Regions from separate parts of the Homo sapiens genome. Here region 1 is linked to region 2. Evidence: promoter capture Hi-C in 16 types of primary human blood cells and fetal thymus (Javierre and others, 2016). All regions are on one chromosome and are shown on one strand. Each heading gives the region's core, a stretch centred on a gene start or on the middle of the fragment in contact. The rest is flanking DNA. Distances are from core to core; before and after follow the strand shown.

Region 1 (3,592 bases), core at 274-2,773, 4.5 Mb after region 2:
CCCCATCAACCCAAAATGACCTCATTTTTTTAGACATGAATATGCCTCAAGGGTTCCTTGAGGGTGAGCTATGTACGCCTAATTCATGACTGAATGATAATGATGCTAGCAGACATCCCAGAGGCTTGTCAGGGGCCTGGCAATGTGTTTAGCTCCCTGCAGAGGCTAACTCACCTAACCTTTACAATTCCCTCACAGCCTAAGTGCTAGTGTTATCTTCATTTCACAGAGGGGACATCTGAGGCTCAGGGGACACCAGAGTTGGAGGGAGTTTAAGCAGAATGGCCCAGTGTGACTCAGCTAGGTAGTAGCAGAGGCAGGATGTGAACCCATGCAGTCAGGCCCTCGGAGCCACGTTCTGACCACGGTACAGTCCTCTCCGTATGTGTGAAGACAGACAAAACCCTGTGGGCTACTTCACCCAGCAGGCCAAGAAATAATTACATATCCACCCAGGTATTATTGAGAGGAAAATTCAGCAAATATTTTGATCTGAGCATTTTTCAATTCTAACCATTTAAAAGTAACTTTCATTCTATCAGCAGGAGAATCACAGATTTCTATGCTGTAAACAGCAAAGGATCGGGTCATACATGTAAAACTTTAACCATTTTCTTTATTTTATAGAGGAGAAAAGGAGTTTTCTTACGCTCATAGGCATTTTCTCAGTGAGTTAAGGAGTCTTTCCTTAGGCACACAGATGGGCCTTACAATAGCTTTAAGTCTACTGGAAGACTTAATTTTCTGAATCATGCTCAAAGACTAGTGCTTTACTCATTCTAGGCCCCACACAGTTTCTCATAAAACATTTCGCTTCTAAGTGAGTTGTGAAAATGGGACTCACAAAATGATGACAGAAATACTGCTTTAAAAACCTTTCCAGAAGGTTTCACAGAAATACAATAGAATATATGAGAAGAAAATGTCTAGTTGTTATTACGAAGGTGTAAAGGAAATGAGAGAGGGTTACTTTTTACTGGAAACAGCCAGAAAGATTCACTTAAGACCATAATTTACTCATATAATCTGTTTTATTTAAAAATAATATTGAAATAGTACTAAAATAATCTTAATAGAAATTATGCAAGACACAACTAACATTAATTCTAGTGATTTGTACTAGATAAAAATAAGGAATTACTATGAGCTATTGAGAGAAATTAAAGGAACATTTTCATCATGAAATTTCAATCAAAGGAGAATAACAAGAAGACATCTTAGTCATGCCAACCTTTGGAAAATATACTCCCTGACCACTATTTCTGAAATTATTAAGGATGTTCAACAAAACATATAGACAAATCCAATTAAGGAGGAAACTTACAAAGATATAACAAAGAGGGAAGCCAGCCAAGCAGTGCAATGCAAACAAAGCCCACCGTGACAGATGGAGAGCAAAGCCATAAGGAGTCCACACTGCACCATTCAATAAATAGTATGGTCAAGAGGGCATATCCTAGTGATATGACAAATGAGCCTATTTTCCTCTAACAATTGAAATAAGGTAAGGCCAATACAACCTTTAAAGAAACAAAAATGTTTGCAAGAAAGCCATGTACACACACAAATAAACCAAACATTGCCTAATTTTGAGCATGTTAGAGAACAGGATGCATTTGACCTTGATGATTGTCCTTATAAGGACATGAAGTTAGTCACAGAGGATGACATGTCTTTCCTGCTGACCAACCACACCGCTCAGTTCTTCACCAAATACTTTGTTTAATTATACCACCAAAGCTCTTATTTACAGTTATAGGACTGAACGTAAATTACTAACCTTGACAACATAAAAATAGAGTTTACCCAGCCCAAATTGGGAAATTATGGAGAAAAGAGGTGCAGGAAAGTGTGAGAAGATAATTTCTTCATCTCGTCTAATGAGAAGGAAGAGATACTATTAAAAAGTAGAGACTTCAGTGTATTATTTAATTATGAAGGCAACAAGTATAGAGCAACGTCCCACTAATAAATATTTCCCCTGACACTTTACATGACTTAAAATTTGTCATTTACTTCAGGTTCATATTATCTTAGAAAAATAAGTGTTCTGGCTTGGCACAGTGGCTCACGCCTGTAATCCCACTGCTTGAGGGGCTGAGGCAGGAGGATCGCTTGAGCCTAAGAGTTCAAGACCAGCCAGGACAACACAGAGAAACCCTGACTCTACAAGGAATACAAAAATAAGTTGGGCGTGATGGTGCATGCCTGTTGTCCCAGCTACTTGGGAGGCTGAAGTAGGAAGATCACTTGAACCCAGAAGCTCAAAGCTGCAGTGAGCCACGATCACGCCACTGCACTCTGGCCTGGACCACAGAGTGAGACCCTGTCTCAAAAGAAAAAAGAGAAATAAGCATTCTGTCCCCTCTTCAGAGCATGATTCTCTCTCTGATTAAGACTCCTCTAATTTCAAGAAGCTCCTCCTGATTATTCAAGATGGTTCAAATTTAGAAGGCACCCTTGATCCTCTTACTTTTTTGTGACTAGCACAAGTACTGGGCCATAAAACAGAGGGTCCTCAAAGAATAACCATATTCCCTCACCATCAAAATCCTGCCATTTGGCTGATCAATCCCACCCCACACACACCAAAGCATGCTGTGGTTCAACTCCAAGACTTTTGACTAGTGTCTGATACTTTTAAATGCCTCTGTTACCTACTTCTCTGAGACATCAGACAAGTCTGAACCTATCCCAACTTGAGTTTCCCCCACGGTAAATTAGAGGCATTGGTATCCATCCCACAAGGTTGTACTGATAATCAAATGAGATAACATACAAAGTGCCCAGCACATTGTAGATGTTACAACTTCCTTTCTTCCCTTCAATAGATGAAATTTATTGTGTGAACAACGAAGTGTTCTTAATATGTTTGTTATTTTTTCTCCGTTTAAACATCTGTAGTTGTCAGAACTTTTGAGAAAGGTTCTTTCATGTCTAAACGTCCACGATTCTATGGCCAGTACGCTAATTAAAGGAGAACCATCCTAGTTCAGCCTCTCCCAGGTTAGACCAAAAAGTGGATTGCTGCTGCCACCTGGTGGCTACAAGATAATTTGAGGCAGCATTTCGCGGAAGCTTGTGAGTGCTAAACACCCAACCCCCACACACAATTAGAGGGAGCCTGGGAAAGTGAGGACGCCCCCACTTGTTTTCTTTTCTTTTCTTTTTTTTTTTTTTTTTTGAGACAGGGTCTCGCTTTGTCACCCAGGCTGGAGTACAGGGGCACAATCTCAGCTCACGGCAACCTCTGCCTCCCAGATTCAAGCGATTCTCGTGCCTCAGCCACCCCAGTAGTTGGGATTACAGGCACGCGCCACCACGCCTGGCTAATTTTTGTATTTTTAGTAGAGACAGGGATCTCAGTATGTTGTCCAGGCTGGTCTCGAACTCCCAGGCTCAAGCGATCCTCTTGCCTCAGCCTCTCAAAGTGCTGGGATTACAGGCACGAGCCACTGCGCCGGGACGACCCCAATTATTTTCTAAACGAGTGTCGGTGACAGGTGAAGAACACACACTGGTTTGTTTCCATCTTTGGGAATGTAAATCAAGGTCAAGACTGACCTTGAACAAAAATGTAAAGTTGGCAAAT
Region 2 (3,736 bases), core at 157-2,656:
TTGTCTTTTTACTGATGAGAGTATTCTTTGATGCACAAAGGTTTTTTATTCTGATGCAGCCGAATTGTCTATTTTTTCCTTGTCGTTTTGGTGTCATGTCCAAGAAATCACTGCCAAATCCAATGTCGTGAAGCGATTCTTCTAAGTTTTCTTCTAAGAGTTTTATAGTTTAAGACCTTACAGTTACATCTTTGATCAATTTTGAGATAATTTTGTATATGATGTTTTTAGGTAAAGGTCCAACTGCATTTTTTTCCGCATATGGACATTTAGTTTCCCCAGCATCATTTGTTGAAAATAAATTGTTAAGGTCACTATAGTCTTGTAGTAAGTTCTGAAATCAAGAAGTGTGAGTACTCCAACTTTGTTCTTTAATTTCAAGATTGTTTTGGCTATTTATGACCCCTTGGGGTTCCTTGTTAATTTCAGGATGGAATTCTGCCATTTCTTAGCATAAAACTTTTCAGTGGAGGTCAGTTGCTTTTGACATCCAAACTCCTGCCCTTTTATAGGGTCCTTTAAGATATATCACCTGCTTATCACCTCAGCTTCTTCTCTAGACTGGCTCCAATCCCCTTTATCCAAACCTACTCATCGACCTCTCAGAACCATTTTCACTGCTTCCAATAGCTATGCTCTCTTGTCTCAGGCCTTTGTATGTGACCTGCTTTTTGCCCGGCATTCTTTGCCTGGCATTTCTTCTTCCTTCACATTTCAGCTTCCACATCCCTTCCATGCCCTCCATGAGAAAATTAGTTGGTGCTTTATGTTCTCACTGAGGACTGCCATTCTTAGCACCGTCTCCACTACACGGTAAGTGCTTGGCTTGGACACCCCCCAGCCTGTGGCGAATGGATGTCTTGGTCACATTTGTGCTTAGCACACCACTTTTCATGTAGTAAACCATCTGTGAATGTTGGTTTCAAGAATTGTTGGAAGGTTCCTTTACTGGTATTCTTCCAAAGGATAGTTTTCTGGAGTGTGGGAAGAGTCAACAGCACAGGGGTTGGAAGCACATGAATAATGAAAGGTGTTTACTGGATCCTGCCTCGCATTACTCCACTCGCCCACATTAGCAATGAAATCTGTAATCATTTCATTCCAGTGTTTCTCCGAGACCTCTGAGGGGTTAAGGCAGCAGTCCTGGGCATCCGGCTTATTTAGAAGGAGGGTGCGGAAGTGTGAGGATCTACTTCAGTAATCAGAGGATATTGGAGGAGACCCACCCAGTGTCTTTGGTTATTCAACGCACACCTTAGACCTCACAACACTGGCAGCAGCGCCCCAGAAAGCTCCTCTTGCGGGACCGCGCGCCAGCTTCCGGGTCCAGCCCCAGAAGGAACAGATGACCGGAAATGGAACCTGCGCGGGCCCGTTGCTTAGCAACAAACGCTGCCCGGACGCTAGACGGCTCTGGTGCGGAGGGAGCTGAGACCGCTGCAAGTCCCGGGGCCCTGCCTCTATCGTCCTAGGGGTTCCGCGGGCAGGAGCAACCCAGAAGCACCGGTGAGGCCAGCGCGTCCTCGCAGCCATGAGCAGTGAGCAGGTGAGAGGGCTGCTCTTTGCCAGGCTCGCCGCCGCCGCGACGCTTCCCAGGCGTTTCGGAAGTGGTGGAAGCCCCTCCTGCCTAGCGAACTCCCCAGCTGTGACTCCGCGGTGTACAGCTTCCTTCACCCCACTTGTGGCCTGGGTTACTGAGCGCTTTCCGTGAATGCCCTTATAAGTTCCCTTCCCAGCTGTTTGCCCTTGGTCGTCATAACAACCAAACCTAGCCGCCTAGCGGCGCGCCAGCAGGGGGAGCCACAGCCCAGAGCACCCCCAGAGTGCTAATGGCGGTGTGCTTGGGTGAGAGGCGGCTCTGCGAGGAGTTGCAGCGGGTTTGGGTTCTAAGGTGGGAATCGAAGCCAACTCCTAGCCATGTGACTTTGGACAAATCTCTTAGTCTTTGTAAGCCTTAGTTCTCCCACCTCTTATGCAGAGCGGGGGAAACATCAGAACAACTTTTCTTCTTTTTGAGGTTGTTGTCAATTTCAAATTAGATACCATGCCATACCATAACTATACAATATTATACTATACATGAAAGGCCTTGGTAAGTGACATATGGCACTTCTTAAGATGATATTCCATGGTATGTGATAAAAGATGCACTTTGCAATAGCTGCTTTTCTTTCTCTTTTTTTCTCGTTTTTTTCCTTTCTGTCTTTCTCTCCTTTTTCTTCTAAGAATTCTTTCTTTATTGAACTTAAGAGCAACTAACAGAAAGGCAGAACAATGGTCAGTCGTCTTAATATCAGCACAGAATGGGAAGATATTAAACGTGGTCATTATTCTGGCTAGCTAGAAAATAACTCTAGCTTTCTACGTAGTGATGAATAAGGAAAAGGACTCTATAAACCTCCTGGAAGAAAAACAGTTGTTTTTAAGCCTGCAAATTTCATTTAGCTTTTAAACAATATTAAACGGTAATTATTTCTTTTTTATTGCTTTATAATGCTTTTTTCGGTAGTGTTAGAATTTATTGTGGAAACAGTATTAAAACGGATTTAGTCTCCTATCCATTGAGTTGTACATTACTAACAGAACTATGTGAAGATCCTGATTGGTTAGTTCATCAAATAAGTAATTAATACCTGAAATGCTCAAGAAAATTTGGTTTGAACCTTTTTAAAAAAATAAGTATAATTTAAGAACTAAGAAATGGACACTGATTCATATGCTAAAGTATAATTAGTATTGGTATTAATAATAAAAGAGTAAATGACAAGCAAAAAACAAAAAGTTCAGATACAAGTAACCAAAAACACTGAGCAATTGTTTAATAGATCTTACTAGTTTTTTTCTACATGATATTAATGTAATCAGATTTAAAAAATAACATTTGTTACTGTCACCATTATTATATATTGAGCAGCTTCTTTGCTTGTTGCCCAAGTTAGTCTTCGGCCAGATCTTGAACCATATCCTACGTTGTTAGAGTTTAAAATACACTTTTACCACATTTCCAATGGTATTTCTCAATAGCTGTTTTTCACAATTCCCCTAACTTACCCATCTACAACTAAAAAGTATCCACAAAAAACCCACCAGCCGTTAAGTTCTAAATTTTGCTTCATCTTTATAAAAGTGATGTTGGGAAATGACACCCTAGTCTCTCACTCCCCCTCCAGAAAGGTTGTGATTTATTGAAGAGGCAGCGGGATCTTAAAAGAATGGACATGATTTCCATTTTCCACTTACTATTTTTGAACAGCAGAGGGCCCTCTATCACTGTTTTGGTTGATTTGTAATTTAAAAACTAATCTTGAGAATTTCATTTATGCTAATTTAGAGTGTAGCTTTCCTTTGGAAGGATGAAAGTTTTTATGTTTTAACCTAAAACAAACAGAATGGATTAAACTTCTGGAAATGCCATTTTTTATGTGACATTTACTTGTATATTCATTCAGTTTGAGAAAGTGAGCAGGTGGTAAAATCGTATTTGCTGAAGGAGATTTTAACATATTCATCTCATTAGTGGAAGGTTGAGAGTGACATGGAATTTTTCAGGAATAGCAGTCTGGGCTTTTCTCTTAAATTAGGCATTTAGAAGAAATGTAAATCTTTTGCAATTGCTCATTTCATTTTTAAAATGAGTTAAAACTTTAAAAGGCATTTTTAGTATCAGTTGAAAAACTTTGAGAGGTTTAAAGGCACAAATATCCGAAGACCAGGAAGCTCCCCACAGATATACTAC

The links. Contacts are between HindIII fragments. The CHiCAGO score rates a contact against its expected background, and 5 or more counts as called.
Region 1: a contact is called between a fragment that was not itself captured here and the fragment with the promoter of DNAH7 in region 2, in 1 of 17 cell types (total B cells). The highest score is 5.3, in total B cells.

The regions. Positions count from the first base shown.
Region 1 is chr2:191,554,717-191,558,308 of GRCh38, reverse strand. No RefSeq gene overlaps it. Among named protein-coding and RNA genes, the nearest start is that of NABP1, 120 kb to the left of the region's middle. The HindIII fragment of the contact is 3,115 bases long and covers 1-3,080 here.
Region 2 is chr2:196,066,507-196,070,242 of GRCh38, reverse strand. It overlaps DNAH7 (dynein axonemal heavy chain 7), which reads left to right and starts at 1,406. Exons shown (of 65, transcript NM_018897.3): 1 at 1,406-1,546. The coding sequence starts at 1,532. RefSeq lists enhancers at 1,495-1,584, 2,065-2,114. The HindIII fragment of the contact is 14,129 bases long and covers 1-3,736 here.